Linked DNA regions of Homo sapiens: regions 1, 3, 4 and 5 are each linked to region 2. The links are contacts of gene promoters, found by promoter capture Hi-C in blood cells and fetal thymus (Javierre and others, 2016). All regions are on one chromosome and are shown on one strand. Each heading gives the region's core, a stretch centred on a gene start or on the middle of the fragment in contact. The rest is flanking DNA. Distances are from core to core; before and after follow the strand shown. Region 1 holds the start of LOC105371677 (a long non-coding RNA gene). Region 2 holds the start of NEK7 (NIMA related kinase 7). Region 3 overlaps LOC105371677 (a long non-coding RNA gene). Region 4 has its middle 29 kb from the start of PTPRC. Region 5 overlaps PTPRC (protein tyrosine phosphatase receptor type C).

Evidence for each region. Contacts are between HindIII fragments. The CHiCAGO score rates a contact against its expected background, and 5 or more counts as called.
Region 1: a contact is called between a fragment that was not itself captured here and the fragment with the promoter of NEK7 in region 2, in 4 of 17 cell types (naive CD8 T cells, total CD4 T cells, naive CD4 T cells and 1 more). The highest score is 7.5, in naive CD8 T cells.
Region 3: a fragment that was not itself captured here is called in contact with the fragment with the promoter of NEK7 in region 2 in 12 of 17 cell types (endothelial precursors, megakaryocytes, M1 macrophages and 9 more); the score reaches 16.3 in endothelial precursors.
Region 4: a contact is called between a fragment that was not itself captured here and the fragment with the promoter of NEK7 in region 2, in 3 of 17 cell types (naive CD4 T cells, fetal thymus and activated CD4 T cells). The highest score is 7.6, in naive CD4 T cells.
Region 5: a fragment that was not itself captured here is called in contact with the fragment with the promoter of NEK7 in region 2 in 8 of 17 cell types (monocytes, fetal thymus, erythroblasts and 5 more); the score reaches 7.5 in monocytes.

What each region holds. Positions count from the first base shown.
Region 1 is chr1:198,518,043-198,520,845 of GRCh38, reverse strand. LOC105371677 (a long non-coding RNA gene) reads left to right here and starts at 1,036. Exons shown (of 2, transcript XR_922398.3): 1 at 1,036-1,295. The HindIII fragment of the contact is 3,154 bases long and covers 1-2,803 here.
Region 2 is chr1:198,155,592-198,158,291 of GRCh38, reverse strand. NEK7 (NIMA related kinase 7) reads right to left here and starts at 1,294. Exons shown (of 10, transcript NM_133494.3): 1 at 1,016-1,294. RefSeq lists enhancers at 569-618, 2,049-2,108 and a silencer at 859-1,458. The HindIII fragment of the contact is 2,805 bases long and covers 1-2,186 here.
Region 3 is chr1:198,466,334-198,469,119 of GRCh38, reverse strand. All of the region lies in intron 1 of LOC105371677 (a long non-coding RNA gene), which reads left to right. Among named protein-coding and RNA genes, the nearest start is that of ATP6V1G3, 73 kb to the left of the region's middle. The HindIII fragment of the contact is 805 bases long and covers 1,128-1,932 here.
Region 4 is chr1:198,608,898-198,611,597 of GRCh38, reverse strand. No RefSeq gene overlaps it. Among named protein-coding and RNA genes, the nearest start is that of PTPRC, 29 kb to the left of the region's middle. The HindIII fragment of the contact is 806 bases long and covers 851-1,656 here.
Region 5 is chr1:198,641,213-198,643,912 of GRCh38, reverse strand. All of the region lies in intron 2 of PTPRC (protein tyrosine phosphatase receptor type C), which reads right to left. Among named protein-coding and RNA genes, the nearest start is that of PTPRC, 3.5 kb to the right of the region's middle. The HindIII fragment of the contact is 4,043 bases long and covers 1-2,700 here.

The DNA of each region.
Region 1 (2,803 bases), core at 101-2,600, 360 kb before region 2:
ACACTGTATTGTTAAGAGTATGTGCTGTTGCTGCCCCCAATATCCTAGATTCTGTGTAGTTTGCATATTTTTACATTCAAATATGGTTTCACATCTTTGCCTAACTGAATGAGTCATTTTCTAAGAACTCTCACACCTTCACAGATGGTAGAGCTGCCAGGTTTTACTTTATTTACATATGAAAAGGTTTTATGTATTTCAGAGCTAGCTCACTTATCTGTGAGAGCTTTCTCAGTCACAGAAAAAAAGTTGACTTTTTTGTACGTATACTTATACTAAAAGGCTTTTTCTGTTCCGATAGATCTTCACACAGAAATAGAATAGTGTTAGCATGTTTTTAATTGGTCTTTACCCTTGTTTTGATCCTTTGCACAATCAGAAACTACAAAATGAAAAATTATTCCATTGAGTTCTTACTCATTTCCATTGCACTTAAAAACAAAACCATGCAATTTACAGGCTTGCAAAGGAATGCAAGGATTTCGGTTTTTATTCTCGATGTTAGCACACAAATACACACAAAGTCAGGAATTGTCATCAATGCATCACAGCCATTACTTTCTAGATGGATAGAGCTAGTAGAAGAGAGTTGGCCAGAGTGTGCAGAAAGCTGCCACCTTTGAAATATCCCAGCTGAGGCCATTCTAGGTCTAGCCAACCCCCAACATGTCAGAGTCCAGCCTAAATCAGCACAGCCACATTACCTGCCACCGACCATGAATGCAGGCATGAGCAAAGAGGACATCGTATGAGCCACCCGGAAAACTCATAGACTCATGAGCAATAATAAACATTTTAAGCCACTGAGTTTTAGGGTGATGCGTTATGAAGCAATAGCTAACTGCTATACCGATTGAATATTGCCTTAAAAAGGAGAGGGTGACCAACTGTCTTGAATGCTGCTTAGTGTTCAAGTAAAATAGGACAGAGATGTGACTGTTAGATTTACATATGTGGAGGAGGAGTTTGAGGAGAGAAAGTGTGGTGAGAAAGCTAGAGATAGCAGTTATAGATAACTACAAAACTATAAAAATGATCAGAGAAATGGGGCTGCAGCTTGAGACAGATGTGTGTCAAGCACGTGTTTCTTGTCTGGACTAGGAAATGTTATCGCATATTCATATGCTGATTGAAATTCCTCTAGAGGAGAAAGAATCTCTATGACGAATAGAGAGGGGAACTATTGCAGAAGCAAAGTCCTTGAGAAGGCAGGAAGCCTAGAATTCAGATCCGAAGTAGAAGAATTGGCCTTCAACAGGAAGATGACCATGGGCATGGATTGACAAACATAGTAGGTAAGTAGATCTAGTGGTAGGAAGATGAGAAAGTTCCTATTTACCACTAATTTCAAACTAAATTCGAGGACAATGATCAGCTGAGAATGAGGAGTAATTTTAGGGGACTTATCAAACACGAGAAAGGGTAAAATGGTCATTTTAGAAAGTAAGAAGATTACTATGCTAGGAAAGTGTAATAGGATTATCAAGCAGCACTGTATGTCTAAATGAGGCTTATTGTCATAGTTTTAAAATGAGATTAAGTCAGTTGTGTGTTTTCCTCTGGTCATGGTGAGTTGCTCAACTGCAGGAAGAGAGTAGGCAGGTAGTCTGATTTCACCTCTAAATTCATCATCAAAGACTTGAGATTAGCTCCCTTGTCCTGTGTCTTTTAACTCTAAAGTTGAACTGAAATAATTCTTCTTGAAAGACTACTGTGTCCCTAAACTTAAAGAAAAGAAAATTATTGGAAATAAACCACTTAAAAGAAAGATAGAAATCTAAGCATAGAGCTCATTACAAAAATAATGATTCCATTTTATCAACTTGAAGAAATATAACTGTGATAACTGCATGCTTCTCCTATTTCCTGTTCTTCCATCTCAGCTCTCTTGGGACTGCCTAATATTGGCAATGCAAGGAGTTACTAGTGTAGTGAGTTTGCTTACTTCCAAGAGTCACCTGAAAAAGCTACTTATCAATGACATAAATGACTGGAGGACCTTATGTCCCGTGCAATGTTAACTATTCATTTACTCACTCACTTATTCAGCCATAATTATTGAATTATGTGATAACATACATTTGAGATTGGTAGTAGAAATACAGACATGGCTATTACCAAAAGTGACAAGTCCTGTATTCTTACTCCTACCACTTCCAGTGACCCAGCTCCTCAAGTCCAGTTTAAGATAAGGTACATTTTGAGTGAACTGGGGTTCTCTGTGCCATCTAATAAACTAAACTCCTGCAATAGGTATTGTGAACATAAAGAATATTTAATACTGTGTAGTTTAACACAGTAATTAAGATCACCATCCCTCAGACTAGACTATTTGGATTCATATATAAGTAGCAAATATAAGTGTCTATAATAATGGTAATTATTATTATAGTTGAAAAAAACTAAACCAAATAGGCTGACATAAAGACAAAATGAGTGTGGAAGGAGGTTACGAGGGAGAGAATGCCAGAAAAATCACTGTAACTTCTTTTGCAGACAGTTTAAATAGACCATTATGAAATTCCCTTATTTTTAAACTAGAGTAACTAAACTGTTTCTTCATGTTCAGTTAAGTAGAATCCAATGGAACAGAAGTTTCACTGAGCCTGTTTTATCATGCTAGCACTTCCACTGAAAAAGTATCTGTAACTGTTAACTTGTTATCATTTTTATTAATGTGTAATCAATTAATAAGAACATATGTGTTCCACAGACAAATCCCAAAGATATTTAAATAGAGATAACAGTGAATATGAGAGCCTTGCCAATATTCTGAAGACCTGTTTCCTAGTGGAATTCACAG
Region 2 (2,700 bases), core at 45-2,544:
CATTTTATTTCTGTGTATTTCTGATTTTCAGTTCAGTCACCAGAATTGCGCAAGGACAGTAACATGTATCTTACTGTAAACTAAGTATATTTTTTAGCATTTCTCCCCAGTGAGGACTACAGCAAGGTGAGAACACGATACATCATCTCTCCGCGACCCCAGTACGCTCCCAGTGCAAGACTAAATAGAGGATGCTGCGGTTTTAGGAGTGAAGGCCTACAGTGTAACAGAGGCAACAGAAGTTCTTTAGCTCTCAAGGCAGCATCCTCTAGGTTGTGCTCGCTTCCTTACACTGTTCTGCGGTCATACGGTCTTGTCACTTTTCTCTGTTTTCCTTTGGCTACCCTTCTCTGACTTTGGCCTCAGTTTTCAATTTCTTTTCCATTGCCACCATCACCAGCAATGTTCGCTATTGCCTCGCAATCCCTCTCTCCGACATTTTGTAATCCCGAGTCTCTCCCAAGTTCATTCTCCGACAGACCTCTCACGCTCCCTGTACTTCTGAAGCCACTTCGGATTCTCCCCTATCTGCCGGCTCCCACCACCCACTCTCTCCCAGCGCACTTCACTTTCCTAAGTCGGGCTGCTGCCGAATCCTGACAGACGGACTTCACCAATCCGCGAGAGATAAATAACCGACGTCGCCAATGAGCATCCGCCGGAAGGCGGGACTTCGCTTAAGTTCCTCGGGTCCCGAAACCAAAGACCTGTTGCCGCCGCCGCCGTGGCCACGGAGTTTCTTAGTTACCGCGGCGCCCTTGGCGGCCTCGGGCCTCTAGAGCCGGGGCCAGGTATGAAGTTTCCTGCCGCCCCCTCCCACCGCTGCCAACGAACAAGACCGAAACCCCCATCCGCCTCGAGCGCAGCGCGCCCCGCCCCACCTACCCCGAGCGAGGGTATCCCGGAGGCCGCCCCGCGCGGTCCCGACCTCCCTCTCCCGGCCCGACTCCCGCAGGCGGCCCCTCCCGGCAGGAGCTGCCCGGTCCGGGCGCCTGAACCCTGGGCAGCGACTCACCAGGAAGTTGGGAGTTTTCCGTTCTCCCGCCCGCGAGAGACCTTGGGCGGGCGGGTGGCTCGGCGCGGCGCCGCCGTCGGAAAGCGCGCTGGGCCGGGGGCTGAGGCTGCGAGGCCCGGAGCCTGTCGGCCACCTCCCGCCGCGCCGCCCCGGCGGACGCTGCAGGCGCGGGGCACCCACCCTGCGCACTGCGAGGCGCGTCCGGAGTGCGAGCCTAGCGGCGGCCCATCCTCCCGCGACTCCCGATCCTCCTCCTGCTGCCGCCGCTGTCAGGAGTGTAAACATCCCGGCATCCCCGAGGAGAGGGGCGGGGCGGGCGCCGGCCCCACCCCGCGTCGTGAGTCCAGGCCGGCTGCCCGATGGAGGCTTCCCGCCTGCGTCCCCGGCGCTCCCTGGAGCTGGGGGAGCCTCGGCGGTTTCCCTACTGGAGCCGAAGTCGCTCTGGAGGAGCCCCTCCTGGCCCCTCTCTTCCGGTTGTCAGGCCTAGCGTGGTGCGGGGCACCGCGTCCGGTCCCCTGAGCCCTCTTCCCCGGCTGCTTTTTAAGAACCCAGGGTCGGCTGCTTTTTAAGAACTTGTTTTTTCTTCATTTATATGTAAGTGCCCCCACTTGCAAGCGGTGAACCGACTTACTGATGTTCCCTTCTGGACCACAGCGTTTGTGATCCCATCTTCTTTTACCAGGTGATTTAAACTACCTCTGTGTTTAATGTGGAGTGCAGGGAAATGAGAAAAAAAAAAAAAGGCGTTTTCCTGAGTCTGGCTAAGCAAACGTTGCATGAAAGTGTCCCAGCATAGAGGACAGGGGCTTCAACAACATTCCAGAAGGTAAACTCCCTGGTGTGGTACGGAGGATCTTTGAAATAAATATGTGCAAAATCACCCAGAACCCTAGTACACGAAACTGCAAAAGGAATGCTTTGACACCAGCAGCTTCACGACTTAAGTTAACAGGGCATGAACTACTCGAGGAGACGGCTAGGAGGCAGTATGGAGTCGGCCATACCTTAATTGTCGTCTCAACTCAGTGATTAATTTTGTGACCTGGCTGCAAGTTATTTAACCTCTCCAAGTCTCAGTAACTCTCTGTAAAAGGAGATTAGTTGTAATACCAACCTCTAGGACCATAGTTAGAATTAAGTGAGATAAAGCAAAGTGCTTAACCACAAAGCTTGGCATATAAGACGTGCTCATTAAATTGTTGCTGTTGTTCATAGGTCTCTCACTAGTTTAACTTCCCTGACAAAAAGATTAGAGCCAAGAATGAGTAGATTATACCTCAAACATTTAAAATGTTAAAGCCATGAAATTAAGATCTGGAAAGTTTATTTTTAAAAAGAAAAATGGCCGGGCGCAGTGGCTCATGGCTGTAAGCCTAGCATTTTGGGAGGCCAAGTGGGGGGGGGGGTGATCACCTGAGGTCAGGAGTTCGAGACCAGCCTGGCCAACATGGCGAAACCCTGTCTCTACTAAAAATACAAAAACTAGCCGAGCGTGGTGGCAGGAGTCTATAATCCCAGCTACTGGGGAGGCTGAGGCAAAAGAATCGCTTGAACCCGAGGCGGGGAGGAGGTTGCAGTGAGCAGAGATCGCGTTACTTCACTCCAGCGTGGGTGAAAGAGCGAAAATCCGTCTCAAAAAAATAAATAAATAAATGAAAACGTTCACGATCTCAAAAGGAGGCCTT
Region 3 (2,786 bases), core at 281-2,780, 310 kb before region 2:
GATAGGAGAAAAACTTCTGTTCTCTTAAATCTCTATTTAAAAAAGAGAGAGGGAGGCAAGAAGAAAAAAAAGCAAGCCTGCAATTATCTACTTTTTTATACAATCAAATGTTTCCTACACTTACAGCAGCTATAGTTAAAGAAGTCCATGTACTAATTAATTTGAATTTGCTGTTTCATCATTGCATGCCAATTTATAGACAATACAAGCACACACAAAATTAAGTTCCTTGAACATAGTTAGACTTAAACCAATGTTAATTTTTATTTCCTTTCAAAGTCATTATCTGCTTTTAGATTGGACTTTCATTTTGTAACAAAGAGAATAATTTTTTAAAATTATATTTTTTAAAAATAGAGAAAGTTGGCTGTTTTTGATGGCCCACAGAAAAACTAAAATATAATTAAGGGAGAACAGATACATAGGTATGAAACTTGGTTGGGTACTTTCACTGATACTTGCACAAATTACATATTTACCTATGTTATGCCACTTCTAGAAGATGCTTGTTTAATATATAACATTATCTTTTACTGTTTTCACCTTAATTTAATTTCAAAAAATCTTTTTATAAATGGCTAGTATGTTTTGTAAATTCATGCATTCAACAAATGACCATCCACAGATACTGCATGCAAGGCTCTGTGCTGTCCTCTAGATGATGCAGAGATGGTTGATTTCTGGAATCTACCCACAGATGCCAGATTTACAAGAGGATAATAAAGTTTAAACATGTTCAATACCAAAGATGGTTTTTGGTAATACCCTGCAAAAGTTTAGACAAGACAGAAGGCTGATATTTTCAGGAAAGCAAAAAATAAATAAATAAATAAAATAAAATAAAATTTAAAATAATTCATGCTTTTGTTCCAGAAACATCAAAAAACAGATTTCTTTATTAGCTCATTCTGAGTTGCAAATTTTTTCTGGATGATTTTTTTGTGGTTGCAGCTCACTTGGCATCAGCTCCCTTTTTCTGCCAGCACAGCCAAGGTATTCCACGCGTTCACTGTAAATGGAAGTTTATACTGTGCTGGTGGACTGAGATTCCAGGAAGGAGGGCCTCCATGACATGGACAGACCTAGCTTTGTGGCACAAAGCACAACAGCTAAGTCAAATGAAAGCTTACAGTGGATGATAAAAAATAAATTCAGTCAAACAAATATGTTCTCCTAACTGCTGTAGCAAACTTCTTTCTTTCTCCTGGCTGCCAGCTCTTTTCAAAGATGATTCCCAAAGGCTTTTTTCCTTTGTTTAGGTTTCGTATGGGGTAAATTAATTCATGATTTGTTGTTAAAAAACAGTAAAAACAAAGTAAAACACACACACACACACACAAACACACAAACACCTCTTTCCCTAGTCTTCCTCAAAATACCCACAGGAACCCACCCAATAGAATGGCCTGAAACAAAATACTTTTGTTCAAAGCCAGCAAGTCTGGCAAAGCTGCAAGCTCTGCCCATAGCTACCTGTATCATGGGTAGCTGCAGAGAAATATGCAAACTGGCAAACTGGGTACCTTTTACTGTTTTACAACAATATGTTTTATTGTTCTCTCGCTAAGTTCTTTGCCAAGGGCAAAGAGTACTGAAGTAGCTAGCAACAGCCCAGACACAGCTGTCAGCATGAGCCTTACCACTTCTGGCATTGCTTTTTTAGCCAAGAGGCACTGCAATTGCTTACCAATAAGTTGTGATGAGTTGATAATGCAAGTAGACTAGATCATAAATATTTTAGTATTTAAGCATGCTTTTTCATTTACGGTGACTTAGTGCTGCAATGGCAAAGGACTTTCCCCTAGGATAGGCAATTAGGGATAGGTGGAAATGCATATTAGAACATTTATGATAATGAGAAAACTACTTTTAATTGAGTACATTAAGGCTGATCTACAATGATTAAAGCAAAACTCTATTCAAAATGAAGCTTTATTATCACATTTTAAAACCTATACTATGAAACAATTTTTAACTGAAAAATATTTATAAAATACAACTTTGCATCTCTAGTAACATCAAAACCAAAGTGAATTATCTGAAATGAACAAGAATGGGTAGGAAAAAGAAATTGATTACATATGACTAGCAGCAATTGATATAAAGCTACTCAATACGTTAATGGATCTCTGTACTGAATTTTCATCCACTCTTTAGGAATTCTCATTTAGTGTTTGATACTTCTGAATATTGTATTTAAGGATATTTCATTAAGGCTGGATTGTTTACAACAGTCGTAATTATTGTCCCATTCTCTAGATAACTCTGACACCATGGGTGATGACGCTCTGTATGAAACTTTGCATAAGGCTTTCCCTGCTTGCCTCTCTTGCAGGCAGTGTGAGTGACCCTCTCTCCCTATGTATGCATTTAATTCTTCCTCCCCTTACACTCACTTCCTAACCCTACTCCTCTTCTTACTGTTTCAGATCTAAGCTCTCAAAAACCCCTAAGGAAAAAAAAAGGCAAAGGCACATGTAGCTTTGTCAGTGCATTGGAGGGTATGAGACAGGGTTTGAATGCTAATTCGGCTACCCACTCTAAAATGAGGCTAATGATACTGCACAGTGTGGTTGGGAGATGAAATAACACATGCAAGGGCTTTTAAAATTTTAATGTGCAGAGAAATAGAAAACATTATTCTATTTCAATTCTGAAGAAAAATATGTAAATATGTCACATTTTGTCCCTTGATCAGCAATGGTTCCAAATCAAGAGTGTCTTAACTATGCCTGTTTCCCTCATAAATTTTACATAAAGTTCTGAAAATATTGCCACCATTTTAT
Region 4 (2,700 bases), core at 4-2,503, 450 kb before region 2:
CACAGAGACATGATAAGTTTGTTTCTCCCCTGGATAAAGTCAATCAGCTAACGGAAATGTTGACCTTAATCACCATGGGAAAGTTATGACAAATTATGTGTGAGTGTTAAGTCTTCTTACTTGAAGACTAGTTATTGTTTTTATTGAAAACGTGCATGCAATGGGTTACATCTCCTTGGCTATACATATGGGGGCGAGAGTCCTTTCCGCCTTGGTACTCTCTTAGCAGATTGCTTGTGAAGTGCAACATAGTCTGGCTTAATGCTTGTCTTCTAATGCTTAGCTCTAGTACCTTTGTGGAGAGAATTTCTGGGTTAGGAGATGATTTTGGTTTTAATTGTATTTTCATAACACATATCAAGGTTGAATCCGAACTGAACCATCTGAGACTCAAGAACACATTGCAAAATAAAGAAGCTCCTGCCTGGCCAGACTCCTTTATGTCTATTCCCAACAAACTAAATAGATCACTCGGCCAGAGGTAAATTGTTCTGGTGAAGGACAAGCAGAAGGGAGAGTCAACCCTACAATCTAGACACTTTAAATCAGAATCCCTTTCTTTGGTTCTCTCTCAGTAAATGTGTGCAGCTATGTAAGGGTCCTGTCCAAGAACATGATCTCATGTTGAAGAAATAAAGGCAGATACTGGATTCCACTGTTCAAGAGCTCAGAAATGAAACAGAGGTAAAGTTACCTGGAAGCTATTGAAGTATTTCAAGGTCTCTGGCTTATATGAGCCCTTTTCAAAGTCCTAGAAGATATTTAGGTGGTTTTGTTTTTATAAAATTTGCAAAAGTAAGATCTTTCTGTATTCCTTTCGATGAAGAAGACCAGCTAAATCATAAAAGCTTTAGGCTCCTGCTATGAAACGAAAAAAAGAAATAGCAAGGGAGCAAGAAAGTGTGGAAGAGTGTCACTGAATTTATGCATGTTCTAAAGACAGGATTTTCATATGAAAGTAGACACTTTCCAAAAATAGCTACTACAATTCTTAGAATTTTCTTCAAATTCCTGCCAAGTAATAGAAAACTTCAGTTACCCAAATGACCTAAATTCTTGACATTTAACTAAAAAAACCTGTCAGAAAATAGTTCACCAGTACATCTGCTTTTCTTCCACATAATTTATTTCACACAATTAAATACTGACAGCTAAAAAGAAAATAGCATAATCATTACAATGTTAGGTACCATCTTTTGAAAACAGAATGTTTTTGAAATTGGCAAATTTTAAGAATTTAGGAGCTTAAATTATAAAATATGAAAGTACAATATGAATATTATTTTGCTCTGACATACTGAAATATTTCAGCAAACATGCATAAATCGTTATTTATATGTAACTTGTTCATTTTATTATTATAAATATGTTAGGGCATGTGGCAGAAGGAAATGACAACCCTTTGTCCAAACCTCCTTATTTCTAAAAGTTTCTAAATTAAAATAATAACATTCATTAAGTGTAACCCCAAGTGGGTTCAGGTATGGGGATATACAGAAAAAGCAGTCAGTAAAGGTTAATTTAAATGTTTTGTAATGTATGCAAACCTCTAATATGAAAGGGGATATAAAGGACATCCTCAAGCCTGCTGGAATTCTGAAGGATCCTGGGAATGATCTCTCTTACTTTGTGAAGGCGTAGAGTTTTACTGAAGCTTTTACCTTCAGTAAAGGATGGAAGCATGAGACTGGCAAGGGATAGACAGATTTGGGAGTGTGCAGATGTGCATTGGAGGCAGATGACCTGGGCTGGCTTTTTATGGGCCCCACTCCACTCCTGTTCTGGAGGAGCTAGCTTTTAAAAGATTTACTCTATGAGGCCTATGGGGTTGTTGAAGTTGGCTAGAACTTTAGCTTTTATCTTTCCTTCATCCGAATTTCCTGTGAGAGTCCCCTTGACTTTCACAAAATGAATGTGCTATAGAAGCTAAAAGAACAGTATAACAAGAATGGAGATTTCACCTACCACATTATTTTTTCGAATCCAGCGGATGAGGTGCTTTGGCCTATTCATTGTCTGCCACTTGGAATTCCACATGGACAAAGATGGTAGTTGAATCCTCTGGAGCAAGAGCAGTGTCTGGATGTGATGTGTGTAAGAGGTAGAGTGAGGCCAATTCAAGCTAGCTGACAATTCCTCTTGGGCACACAGGTGGTAAGGGAGAGCTACAGGCACCATGGGATCAAAAGACAAGCTACAGGCACCATGGGATCAAAAGACAAGACCTCAACAAACCATGCATTACACACAGATTCTTATTTTTTATGTTCTTCTGTAAATAAAATAATCTTAATGATTTAACAAATATCAGCATTTGTTGCAATAGAAGTCCTTTCCAACCAGACTCAAAGCCCCTGAAGTTGCCTCAGTTTTGTTTATTTGTTTGATGGTTTTGGCTTTTGTTTTTGGTTTTATTTGGACATTGGTTTTTGGTTCTGTCTTTATGATACAATAACATATAGTGATTCTCAAGAAGCAGTGCTGTGTTTGGTAATACCTGCTAATTCATTATTAATAAATTACTAATAATATAAAATAGTAATCATTGGATTCTTGTTCAAAAACAGAAAAGATAAAAATTCTCTTATTATTCACAATTAATTAAGTTATCTTAGCAGCTCAAATGTAAATACTACAGACTAATGAATTAGTTGCTTACATTTTATTAGTAAATAAATCAATGCAATTTTTCTTTTTAGA
Region 5 (2,700 bases), core at 42-2,541, 490 kb before region 2:
TGTCGTGCAAATAATGCAACACCTAGGGTGCACCATATTCCATCTGCCCTTGCAAGCAATCCCAGAGCACTAGCATCAGTGTTCAAACCAGCAATTGCCATGACTGGACCTGATCTGTTTGTGTTATCACTCCGCTACATTTGTATTTCCCTCCCATTCCTTGCTTTTTCTCCTATGGGTATGTGTATCTGAAAAATAAAATTGACCCTCCAAATTACATTACCTAGAATGTCCAAAGAGCAGATCAAAGAAAATTTAGGAAAAACATTCTCAAACTATGAACTTTTAGGAAGTCAGGAGGCTCTTTCCAGACGAGAGGTGAGATAAGGAGAGTAAGAAAGGGAGCAAAGAAAAAACAAACAAACAAACAAACAAAAACAAAAAGGCAAGACTGTAAACATCTAGATCCAAAATCAACTTAATTTAATCTGGACAAAATAGTCCTGCTGTCTTCATCCTCCCACTTCGCCTCTGGTTAATTTTTTTATCTCATATTCTCCCTCTTTTTGACTTCCCTCTTTGAAAATTTTCCTTTCCTTTGTCACTACAATATGCAGTTTTATTTTTTTAATCTATGATTTATTCAGTGTCTGGTGAAAAATTAGGTATGGGAACTATGAGTTTATGCCTTTTGTGTCTCCTATACCTGATTTCATGTAGGTTACAATGTCAAGAAATCCACTAATTCACATGTCATCATCATCATCAATCATCATCACAAAAAAGAGCAGATTGAAATGACTTGAAAAATGCCAAGAAAAGGTGATAAAAAGTGTGCAATTCAATGGAAATATTTTGTGGCAAAAGTGACATAAGAGAACATAATAGAAGAAGTAGGATTTGCCCAGAACCTTAAACACCTTGAGAAAGTATAGAGGTGGGTGTTAAAACTACCTCCTGTTTGTTTTCTTTTAATCAATCATAGAAGAAAAAGAAAGAAAAAAGAAAGAAAGAAAGAAAGAAAGAAAGAAAGAAAGAAAGAAAGAAAGAAAGAAAGAAAGAAAGGAAGAAAGAAAGAAAAGAAAAAAGATCCCTTCCCAGCTCCAGGCCTAGCCCCCAGATCATTAGTGGAACCAGTTTCTCTGGCAAAAAAGATTAGAATTTATACCAAAGGCAATGAGAAGAAATCAGTAACCCTTCACTTTTTATTTTACTTTTTAAGCTGTAGATTACATTAAAAAAAGGATGAGACTTCAGACTGATTAAAAAAACTATTACAATTTTACAGGTGAGAAATAATAAAGCCATGAATTAAGATGATGGCAATGGAGGTGTCAAAGCAAGAAGTTATTAGAGATTATTACAAAGCAAAATTTCAGGACTTGGGGAGCATGTTAATGTCTGGATTTAGGAAAGGTAGTAAGTTCCGTGTTTCTGAGGGATGAGTCTAGAGATGGAGAATCAGAGTGATCAACACATAGTAGGCAATGATACGTAACCAAATGGAGAAAAGAGAACACAGGCGAAGGTCTGAAGTTCATGGGAACGCCAAATAGACAAACATGGAGAACTGATAGATAGATAGATAGATAGATAGATAGACAGATAGATAGATTGACTAGTATATATAACCCACAAATATATAACTAGTTTATGTGTGAGTATCTACATAAAGAAATATATGTTCAAGTATATGAACAATGTAGAAACATCTATATTTCTATACTGGTTAATTGTCACTGGTGAGAGGATAGCAAATAGTCCAGAACAAAGAAAGAACTAAGTTCAAGCTAACTACTCTGCCCCTATACTTACTTACACAGAACAAAAGAGAAAAAGATAATATAGGCCCTAGCCGTAGTCTTTCCTGTAACAAAGTACATTTCAAACTTTAGCAATGATAAAGGTCACAGGCAGGTTTTTAGTAGGACATTTTTTTTCAAATTAATAAGTAATTCTAATCACATTCCCAAATCTCTAAATTATGGAGTATTTAGAACTTAATAGGACTGCTTACCAAATTCAATTAAATAATTTTCATTGAATGTCTGTGATGTGCAAGGCACAGTCCATGTTTATAACATGAGATATATATTTTTAATACAGATGGAAAAATGAAGAATTATGTCCAGGAAATGAGTCTTAACTGTTATGACTCATAACAAAACTCATCATATACCTCACATACCATAACTCATATACTCCTAACTGCCATGCTATAGTGTGGTAGATCTGCCTGGCATTACAACTTTATTAGAACCAGAGAACACTCACCTTCACCTGCCTTCTTAAAACCATCATTGTCCCCTAACATTATTTAGAAATTCTAAACAAAGTTTGGCTTCCAGTTGCCATGGCAAAGAGGCACAGAGCAAGAGGATTAGGAAGTCTTGAGTAAAACTGAACCCTGCCTGGTTGTTGCCGTGGCAAAGATTAACTTTGGCCTTGTCCGTGTGTGCATTTTAGATATTAAATAAAATATTTGAATTATGCATAGAGTTACCATTGATGGCTCTCTACATTTGGCTCTATTTCTTTATGCCTTTACAGCATACAATATAAATTTTGTTCCCCAAAAGTTTATTATTTCCTGTAGGCACTAAACTAATTTTAACACGTTAAAATGAAACATAGAATCCAACTCATTTGTTGCTAAAAAAGAAAAATAAATAATTTAAAGCATTAAGAATTTTCCAAATTATACATTAAATCACAAAATGTTTCTTGCAACTTGAAAGGATTATAAACAATATTTGCAGA